2 separate regions of the Homo sapiens genome follow, and region 1 is linked to region 2. Evidence: promoter capture Hi-C in 16 types of primary human blood cells and fetal thymus (Javierre and others, 2016). All regions are on one chromosome and are shown on one strand. Each heading gives the region's core, a stretch centred on a gene start or on the middle of the fragment in contact. The rest is flanking DNA. Distances are from core to core; before and after follow the strand shown.

What was found. The method cuts DNA at HindIII sites, captures the fragments that hold promoters and counts their contacts. A CHiCAGO score of 5 or more calls a contact.
Region 1: a contact is called between a fragment that was not itself captured here and the fragment with the promoter of FCRL2 in region 2, in 1 of 17 cell types (naive B cells). The highest score is 5.7, in naive B cells.

Annotation. Positions count from the first base shown.
Region 1 is chr1:159,066,519-159,072,381 of GRCh38, reverse strand. AIM2 (absent in melanoma 2) reads left to right here. Exons shown (of 6, transcript NM_004833.3): 3 at 3,681-3,814. Among named protein-coding and RNA genes, the nearest start is that of AIM2, 7.3 kb to the left of the region's middle. RefSeq lists an enhancer at 4,067-4,456. The HindIII fragment of the contact is 683 bases long and covers 1,405-2,087 here.
Region 2 is chr1:157,775,867-157,781,210 of GRCh38, reverse strand. It overlaps FCRL2 (Fc receptor like 2), which reads left to right and starts at 4,079. Exons shown (of 12, transcript NM_030764.4): 1 at 4,079-4,168. The coding sequence starts at 4,138. RefSeq lists an enhancer at 98-157. The HindIII fragment of the contact is 5,936 bases long and covers 1-5,344 here.

The sequences.
Region 1 (5,863 bases), core at 497-2,996, 1.3 Mb before region 2:
TTTGTGGGTGTACAACAAGGGTGACATGGCTTCTCACACATGAGTTATAGGAAGGCTAAATGAAGCCACATAAGTGATACTATGTACATTCATAATTCTATACAGATATAAACTGTTAGGTAGTTTCTAAGGCACTAAAGAGAAAGGAGTGGTGGTTTTCCCAGGCTTTAAGTTAGAAGGTGTAGTTCTTAGAGATGGCCCTTAGATGGCAGTAACTACACATGTTACTTCCAAGTAACCAACCAAAACATTGCCCTGTGTTTTTCTTATCTGGGATGAGCCAGGAATCTAGGCATATTGGCAAACATAGGCTGAGATATTTAGAAATATCTTTTATTTTGGTAATAAATCAAGAATTAATTCTTCTCTTTGACCAGGATAGAACAAAATTTCCCCTTCTACAATCTTCTCCCCATTTTGCTATTCTAATGATTCTGGGATTTTGTTATTCTGCTTAGCTAAAAAAGATCCAGTTTGGGACTAGCTTGGAAACTCAGGAGTAGATTATCCAAGGACTCTCCCAAATGAGAGTCTCCAAATGTAACAGTTGTAGGATTCAAAGTATGCTTTTGGGCCAGGCGCAGTGGCTCACGCCTTTAATCCCAGCACTTTGGGAGGCCAAGGCGGGTGGATCACTTGAGTTCAGGAGTTCGAGATCAGCCTGGCCAACATAGTGAAACTTTGTCTCTACTAAAAATACAAAAATTAGCCAGGCATGGTGGCGGGCATCTGTAATGCCAGCTACTTGGGAGGCTGAGGCACGAGAATCACTTGAACCTGGGAGGGAGAGGTTGCAGTGAGCTGAGATCACACCTCTGCACTCCTGCCTGGGCAACAACAGTGAGACCCTGTCTCAAACAACAACAACAACAAAACACAAAGTATGCTTCTTGCATGCTATACAAGAAGGCAGTTAAGTTCCTTCATAGCTCTAAAATTCTATCCACGGACATACTTAGGCCGCTTTTGAATGTAGGAAATTTTTGTGTGTCCATGCTATTTCTATTATTTTAGGAAAACAGTTTTTGTTTTATTTTTTGAACAGTTAATCTGTCATTCTTGGTTAAGTGATCCTTCTCCATTGCCATTGCATGTCTGCATGTAGAGTGCTATATGCTATTCTACTCATGACCTCACCTCATGGAAGGTAGAAGATACCTGGAGAATCTTTAATGAAGACAGAGGCAATAATTAGTAGACAGGAGAAGCTTTTGTATGAAGCAAGATGAGAAAATATAAGGACACATAAGCGTAGAAAAAGGAAGCTAAGAGAAAATGTGATCAAAGTCCACAAAAGTCCTGCAAGATTAAAATAAAATGCTGAAAATGATAAATGAAATAATCAGTAACAATGTGCACCTGATTATTAAGGCAAATGAGAGATTTATAATTGGCAGACAAGCTTGTCCACAAATATTGCATTGGTACCACAGTGTGTGAAATGAAATATGGCTGATGTGATGTGGTAGAATGGTAGGTTGATTCCTTCCGCCTCCCTTGATGCTGTTTTCTCTCCGATGCTGTGAACATAGAAGAGAGACTTTATCTGCATACCTTTCTGAAACCAATTTCATGGAACTAACTTACCATTGGAAGGTTAGTTTAACTTCTTCCTAGTGCAGAGATCCTGCTACAATATCCCTGTCAGACAGTCAACCACTTTCTGATCTTTGAAAGGTAATGACAGAGTACCTACTACCTCATAAGACAGTTCATTCTACTCTTAGCTCTAATAATTAAATCGTTTCTCTTTTTAGTAAAATCAGTGATTGCCTTGCTATTTCAGTCCAGAATTGTTCAAATTCTATCAGAAATAACATCTAATAATTTCCCAGGCCCTCTTCTGCCTGAGAGTGCCTTAAGTCATCAAACATGGCCATCTTGTTACATGGTCTTTTTAAAAATCAGGAGTAGGAGTTGGCTTTTCACGATAACATATAACCTGACCATAGACGTGGAGGAGCCCAGCCAGAGTATACGACTGCATTTTGTAGGCATTAGTGAGGAGCCAACATGCCACCCATCCATCCATTTCTTCATCCATTCAGTAAATATCCATTGAATTGCTAATAGGTACAAGGAAAGCTTTTAGGTTCTTATGATAAAACAAGGTTTTAAAAACAAATCCAAATTTTGTACAGTTTATACTCTAAAGGGAAAGTAGATATTTTTCTTACAGGCAAATTAACTGAGACAGGTAACTAACTGAGACAAATGTTCTGATGGAAAGGAAGATGGTTCTTCAGCAGCATGTGTCAAAGGAGCATTAACATAAGCCAGGAGTTAGAGTTGGTGTTGGTCAAAGCGGGTTCCATGGGGAAGTGACTTGCACTAAGCTGTGAAAAATGCATAGGAGTTAAAGGTACCTTCAGTCAGAGGGAACACTGTGTGAAAATCCCTCTGACAGCAGGTGTTGACTTGCTTGAGGACTGAAAGAAGGCCAGTATGGCTGCAGTACAGAGAATCTTCAGAGGGCAGGATGGGGTCCCCTCGACAGAAGGAAAATGCAAGGCCTTGTAGAACATAATTAGAAATCTGTGGCCAGGCGCGGTGGCTCACGCCTGTAATCCCAACACTTTGGGAGGCTGAGGTGGGCGCATCACGAGGTGAGGAGCTCAAGACCAGCCTTAACAACATGGTGAAACCCCATCTTTACTAAAAAAATACAAAAATTAGTCAGGCGTGGTGGCATGAGCCTGTAATCCCAGCTACTCAGGAGGCTGAGGCAGGAGAATCACTTGAACCCAGGAGGCAGAGGTTGCAGTGAGCCAAGATTGCGCCACTGCACTCCAGCTTGGGTGACGGAGTGAGACTCCGTCTCAAAAAAAAAAAAAAGAAAGAAATCAGCCCTTGTTTCATAGCAGCAGTTTATTCATTTTCACTACTACATAAGATTCCATTTAATTGATAATTACATATACACATAAACTGATATACATATATATAGAGAGAGAGAATTGGTGTATTTTTATTGTTATTTTAGTCATTGGAGGCCATTATGAATAATGCTGCTATGAATATTTATGTACATTATAAGCCTTATATACTTATCTTTGTATGTTTGTATTTGTATGTGTGTTTCTCTTGACTGTACACCTGTGAATGGTATTACTGGATGTTAAGGTAAGTAGATATTGAATTTTAATAAATAGCGTCCCAAACCATTTTCCAAAGTGTTATACCAATTTAAGACGACTACTACTTCATAGTTTTTGTTTCTTGTCTTTTTTTTTTTTTTGAGACAGACAGGGTCTCACTGTGTCATCCAAGCTGGAGTGCAGTGGTGCAATCATGACTCACTGCAGCTTTGAACTCCTGGGCTTAAGTTATCCTTGCCTCAGCCTCCCAAGTAGCTGGGACTAAAAACATGTGCCATTATACCTGGCTAATTTTGAAAATATTTTTTGTAAAGATAGGGTCTCCCTATGTTGACTAAGCTGGTCTCAAACCCCTGGCCTCAAGTGATCCTCCAGCCTTGGCCTCCCAAAGTGCTGGGATTACTGGTGTCTGTGCCAGGTCCAGTTTCTTTCATTTTAAAATATGATTTTTTTTTAAGAAAAATTAGCTGTTCTTGAAGATATCTTAATATGGTTTTAGTATTTATTCCTGGTGACATTTGAAAATGTGCACTGCTCATATGTTTATATGCTTATTGGCCATGTCTTTCATTTTTTAATCAGTTGATAAGCAATACAAATCGGTAACAAAACCAAAGCCACTAAGTCAAGCTGAAATGAGTCCTGCTGCATCTGCAGCCATCAGAAATGATGTCGCAAAGCAACGTGCTGCACCAAAAGTCTCTCCTCATGTTAAGGTAGGATAAGGAGAGTGGAGTGGTCTTTGTCCTTGTAAGAGCATCACTGTCACTGTCACTTCCCATATTGTTCTCTGTTCTTTATCTCACAGCATGCAAATAAGGGAAGCAAGGCCACAGCATGAAAAGCATTCTGAGTCACAAAAACAGGAACTACCTTTGATTCATCAGATTAAACACCTGTTGAGCTTCTAATCTCTGCCAGGTTCTGGACACATTAACACTTTGTTATGTTTTGGATTCTATAAGAAGAAAACTCTGAGATAGACCGTTGTTTACAGGAAGTCTATTTTAGAGCACTTTCAGAATTAATATCTGTGAGGAAGTGAAAGGAGAAGAAGAGGAAGAATGTCAAGTCCAATGTAGTTGCAATAGAGGCCTTGGCCTACCCTACAGGGAGCTCGGGAGCTGAGAATGTCTTTCAGGGCTCCCAAGATTTGTGAGGGAGTCTGTGGTTTGTACAGGCCCAGGCTCTGGGTCACATCAGAGATCCAATTCAGAGACTCTGACACTCGGTCTGGCATGCCTCTGTTTGTTTTCTGCTTGGTTCTTGACAGCAAATTGCTTTTTTAAAAGTAATGTAAAAAAGCCCTTTATACACCTGCATGGACAAGGTGAGGTGGCCCCATTTAGCTGAGAGAGTAGTGGCTGGAGAGTGTCATTGGTGAGAATGATTACTTTAGTCCTGAGGGAGTGGCAGACAACGTTAGAAAGGCCCAGCACAGAATCCACCACACATGCAGTTTCATTTCCTATGAAGCAGGTATTACATTATTTTATACCTGTGTGAGCTCTAAAAACTGATGATATATACTTCATTCTCTTTGTCTAGAGGAACCATTTCCTCTGGGTTTGGCCCAGAAACTTCTGGATTTTTCAGGAAAACAAGGTTCAAGTATAAATGGTGTGATTCCCTCATCAGTAATGAAAATATGCATTTTTCAGTCTGGAAGACCCAAATAAAGATACATGGACCAAAGAGAAGGACTTCTGTAGTGGACCTCAGTGGAGCTGACCTTTCCCTGCATTGATCCAAATGCAGTCAGTTATGCTGCCCATCAGGGCCCCTTACTGGCCCAAGCTCCACTGCCCCAAGCTCCAGGTCACATCAGAGACACCCTTCAGAGACTCCTACGCTTGGCTTTTTATGCCTCTGTTTGTTTTGCCCTGTATTTCCCTTTGGTTCTAAATGGCAAGTGGCTTTTAAAAAGTAGTATTTTCTCCCAAAACAAACCAAAAAGAGGTGTCTTATCTCTGTTAATTCAGAAAAATAAAAAACACAGAGAAGAGAATAAAATTATCTATAATTGTATCGTCTAGGAAAAAAATACATTGATGTTGGTAAATATCTCTCTAGTGTGTTTGTGTGTGTGCTTTAACTGCTTATTTATCCAATAAGAAACAGATTGTTTATCTGTTTAGGACCTTTCCCTTTATTGAATCAGTTATAACAGTTTATCATATTTCTCTAAAGCATTTTTAATATTTGCACAGTAATCTTTTTGTGACTATACCTATTTTATTTAACCAAATCTATTTTTTAGGTATTTAAATTATTTCTTTTTTTATAATTTCAAATAATAAGATGTACTTTTTAAATATAAACCTTAGTGCATAATTCATTATTTAAGGGTAAATCCATAAATGTAGTATTAATTCTCCTTTTAAATTTCTCCTTTAACTCACTCATAAGATCTCTGAACTAGGTCTCCCCCTTAACTCACATTAAATGTAATCTGCATTTTGTTATGTACAATGCTCCCTAGGAATTTGGGGAGCCCTGTGCTGGTCACTGAGCTCCCTCACTTTTATACCAGAGTAAAATGAACATTTAGGACAGTATTGGATAGAGAAACAAGGACACATGCCCGAATGGAATTGATAGAAGATGGAATCAGATTTGTCAGATTTACCCCGAGGCTTAGCAGTATTTCAGAAATCTGATGAAGTCTTTATATATAGTACATGGCAAAGCAAGGATTTGGTTTCAGGGATCCTACCTCCAAAACGTGTTACACCGTCTTATCTGAATACAGGAGTCGAAATCTT
Region 2 (5,344 bases), core at 2,830-5,329:
CTCCCCACCTGTTGTTCTCATGGAACCCAGGCAACTTGCCAGGAAGTATTTTCATACACGGAGAGAAGACTGCTCACCACCACAGGTGCTGCTCTGATGTCTTCTATGAGCCTCCCTAAGTCTTTCTGCCTCTCTGCCTCCCCTCAGACACCAAGGCTGGGTTCCCCTCCACCTCCACTGTAGGAATAGTAATACCTTCTTTAGTAAGGATTTACCATAGTTTCCATTGCTACTAAAGGAACTGATAATCTTCATGACGAAGGAAAAAATCGAACTTTGTTAAACTCCAGTCCCCTAGAGATACACTATCTAAAACTTCAACTTACTCTTGGCCTTCTCTGATTCTCTGGGCTTTCACTATCTTCATTATCTTCCATGGAGGTAATGACCACTAGCTTCCAAGCATTTATACCCATTCTGAATTCTCTTTCATGCTATTTGCTCCATGCAGAGCCCTACTGGACTTCTAGATATAATAAATTTAATTGTAAAAAATCTTCTGGGCAGAAGGGCCTGGCTCTGTCTAAATTACATTGGAGAGTGTCTGCATAGACAACATTTGGTCTAGCCAGTTCTGTCCCAGAAGTTCTTCAACAAACAACATCACCTCCATAGAACTCGGAAAGTATCTAGTTACTATCTTGGACAGGAAGTTATTAGGGAAAGCCCCACTCAACAAAGACATATCATGCTGCTCAAGGTAATTATTGTAATTATTAAAACTGCTACTACCACTACTGCCATAACAATGATGATGACCATGACTATGACTACTTCTACTGCCATTTATGTAGCAATTATTATGACAAGTAATTTATATATATTATGACATTTAATTCTCTCATAGTGACCTTGGAACCCCAAGCTCAAAAGATTATATCTAGGGATCTTGGAAGTTAGCCTGTTTCATTTTCTTATTTTCCCACTCTAACTGTCCTAGTAATCAAATTCATCAAGCAGGAAGTGTGATTTGTTTTATTCTGACATATTTTATGAAGACTCTATTTGTCTCTGTCTCAGTTCTGGCATGCCCCAACTTGGCACTGTATTTTGTATTCCATTCAAGACATTGAACACGGTTCACAGAGATGACTCTTGCTCTGCATCTGGCAAAATAGGCTTCAGTATGTTACCACCTGTGGAATCTCCATGTTAAGGGTTTACCTGGTTGATCCAAGAGGCATTTATATGTATGTCTAATGCTGGTTCTTTCTGATACCTGTGACTCCATCCTGTTGGTGGCAAAATATCCTTGCACAAAAAGTATTATCTCTCACTTTGATCAAACCTACAAACATAATTTTATTTCTGCCACTATTGCCTTAATTTTTAAGTTACTTTCCCCACCCCCCACCAAGTGTCTATTAAGCCTCTTAATCTCTGGTCACAGTGCCTACTGTGCATTCAAGTTTAGCTACGCTTCCAGGATATGCCTATTCACTTGTAAATTACTGCCGTCTGTCAAATACAGAGTAGCACCCACATGAAACATGTTAGCCATCTTAGAGGATTTGTTGCCACCTCTGTGGCCCACACACCTCATTACTGCTGCTTTCCACCTGCACCTTTTATACCAACTGTGAATTTTACCTCATATCATTTGGTAACACCTTAAGAAATATTGATTCTTAACTGAAGAGGCCACATTTCCATAGAGGGTATATAGAAATCAGTGAAGGGATATGGATTATTTTGAAAAATCTCCTTGATGTCTATGAAAAACTTGTACCTACCATCAATTTACCATCAACTTTTTCATGATCCTATTTGTACTCCTTTCCTTAATTCCCTCCCATCCACAAAATTTCTATAGCTTCCAGGTTGGTCAGAATGGGAAGGAATTATAGGCCACCTAGAAACCCATTCAGTAGGCAAGATTTGATGATCAGTGACTAGCTTTGGTCCTGGGAAAGAGTAACTTACACTTTCAAACACATACAAACCGTTTGCCTATGCAGAAAGTTAAAGTAGTATTGTTTTCAACACTTTAAGATGAGAGAGGCCATAAAACCTAGTTTCTTATAATGAATCTTTAAAAAGTACGTAAATAGCATATGTTTATTGTAAGAATACTAGAATACACAGATAAGCAAAATAAGGAAAATAAAAATCAGCTTTAATTAGATTTTTTGGATATAATTACAGTAACTCTGTGGTGCGAATTGTCTCAGACACTTTTTATTGGAGAGCAGGGGATAATGTGCAGCAGATAAAGTGCACTCTGCAGCCACTTTTTTCTTTTCTTTTCTTTTCTTTTTTTTTTTTGAGACGGAGTCTTGCTCTGTCACCCAAGCTGGAGTGCAGTGGCACGATCTCGGCTCACTGCAAGCTCTGCCTCCCGGGTTTGTACCATTCTCCTGCCTCAGCCTCCCAAACAGCTGGGACTACAGGCACCTGCCACCACGCCCGGCTAATTTTTTGTATTTTTAGTTGAGATGGGGTTTCACCGTGTTAGCCAGGATGGTCTTGATCTCCTGACCTCGTGATCCGCCCGCCTCAGCCTCCCAAAGTGCTGAGATTACAGGCGTGAGCCACCGCACCCAGCCCACTTTTTTCTTAATCATATATCCTAGACATCTTATCTTGCTATTAAATATTATTCCACAGAATTATTTTAATGGCTGTTTGGTTTTCCACAGCATTTGACACATAACTTATTTTTAACACACATCTCTCCTTGTGATATATTTTTAGTATTTTCTTTTTACATTATTATAAGCAAGGCTTTAATGACCATCACATATAAATATTAGCCTTTCTCAAAGTAAAACTATGATAATAGTGAGAATAAAATGTTAAGTATCCAATTGTTAAAAATTCAATGTTAAGTATTCAGGTAAATGTTAAGTACCTGAACAGGTAACATTGAGTCTATGAATATTTTCAGTCAGTCCCTCATTTATAAGCACCTGTGATTTTTTGGTTTAGAGTTTCATCCTGCATAAGGTTCACTGATGAGACAACATCTACTGGGACTACATCTAATCAAAGTGAGCATGATAATAGGTGTTCACATAACACGCGCTTTGCTTTGTGTGAGATAACTGTATTAGGATCAGCCTGGGGTACAAAAAGCAATGCAGATTAGAAATAGGCAATGTTGTGATTACAGATTAGAAAGATGGCAATGTTTTCAGCAATATAGTGCAAGTGTTTTGAAGTTTAGTAAAATCTCATTCTAGAAAGTCATCGAATGACTACGAAAAATTTTACTTAAGAAATATGAGCTATTGAAACAATGGCCTTATTATTTTATGAACCTTGAGAAGCAATATATCAAGATAATAGGGCACAATGTTTAAGAGCCAGACTGTGACACTGGGCTGCCTGGGTTTGAATCCCAGATCTGTTACTACTAGAAATTGATTAAGCTGATCTTGGTCATTTTACTGGCTGCTATCATCTGAATGTTTGTGTCCTGGCAAAATTCTTATGTTGATACTTAATCCTCAATGCAATAGTAATAAAAGGTACCCACCTTTTATTACATGACCTTTTAGGGGTCATGAGTGTGGAACTCTTATGAAAAGGATTAGTCTCCTTGTAAAAGAGGCTTGAGGGAGCTTGTTTGCTCCTTCCATCATGTGAAGACACATAGAGGACACCATCTATGAGAAACAGGCCCTCATCAGACACTGAATCTACTGGTGCCTTGATCTTAAACTTCCCAGCCTCTTGAACTATGAGTGATAAATTTATGTTGTTTATAAATTTCTCAGTCTAAGGTATTCTTTATAGCAGCCCCAATGGACTAAGACACTTACCTTTACTAGTGCCTCAATTTCCTTATTCATGTGAAAGGGGATAGTGCCAATTCAGAAACTTGCTGAAGGTAATAAATAACTCTGTAAGCATGAGGCACTTAGAACTGTGTCTGACTCATTGCAACCCATATGTAAATGCTAGGTATCATAATGAGGGTCAAGTTACAAAATTTCTCTGGCATTGAGAGGATCAGCTATAATTGTTTTAGCCCTTCCAGGACAAAGATAATGGTTAAACATAGTGGCACTATTCTACTTCCTTTTTTGCTAATTATACAAAACCTATTCTGAAAACCACATTTCATCGCCTGCTCAGAGTCTCCAGTTGGTGACCAAGAGTACATCTCTTTTCAAATAGCTGGATTAGGTCCTCATGCTGCTGTGGTCATTGCTGGTCATCTTTGGTGAGTTCAATAATTTGACTGAGAAGTGAGGTGGCAGCTGAATGAGGTCTACTGCTCCCAAAAGGTTGGAGGTTTTATTGGAGCCCAGGGACTGGTGGGGATGCTCAGGTCCTGCCTGCAGCTTGGGCTTCAAAGGCAGATGCAAAGAAGTAGGCTGAGGACAGTGAATTTGCAGCACATCCATTAAGCATTAAGCACAATGCTTAATGTTCAAGGTGGACCACTTTTCCATTTGCTGGTCATGAATTGCTATTTTGATATCTTAGATCTCATTGAGTAATATAATGTTCTCATAGTAAAATGTTCATAATATTAGCATTTAGCAATGCCCTTCTCCTCCATGAACACCGATTATTCAATTGTTATCTATAAGATTTGGGTTCAGCAGATGCATTGAGACCCTTTGCTAATATTCCTCTGTTTAATCGTGGACAATGAGGGAGATGACAGCTGCTGCTAGAAAATAAGATTCCTGGGTGAGTGCAGTGGCTCATACCTGTAATCCTAGCACTTTGGGAGTCCAAGGCTGGTGGATCACTTGAGGTCAGAGTTCGAGACCACCCCGGCCAACATGGTGAAACCTCATCTCTACTAAAAATACAAAAATTAGCCAGGCGTGGTGGTGGGCACCTGTAATTCCAGCTACTCGGGAAGCTGAGGCAGGAGAATTGCTTGAACCCGGGAGGTGGAGGTTGTGGTGAGCCAAGATCGCACCATTGTACTCCAGCCTGGGTGAGAGAGTAAATAAGATCCCTTTCTCTATGCTGTGTAGGCACTAAATAAATATTTGTTATTGGAATACAAAGGGCTCTAACGTGAAATATGGCCATAGGAAAGAGACTGATTTGTTGATTTCTTGGAACTCTCACAATGTATGTTTCCTGATGAGCCCTTTGTGATCGTGTTGTCATGTCTATCTACCACTTGAAAAGTCAGAGTGTGAGATAGAGTGGTGGGGATGGTGGAAGGAAAATGAAATCAAGGAGAGTCACTAAATATCCAACATGGGTATTCTCGACAATCCCTTTAGTCAAGCATTGGGTTTGCAACTTGCCTTTTGACTACAATGAATGACAGTTAGATGTGTGCTCGAGGGAGATTGAATTGTTAGTAATAAGAGATTAGGGAAATAGAAAAGAAAGGGAAAATGGAAAGAAGTTTTTGAGCAATTTACCA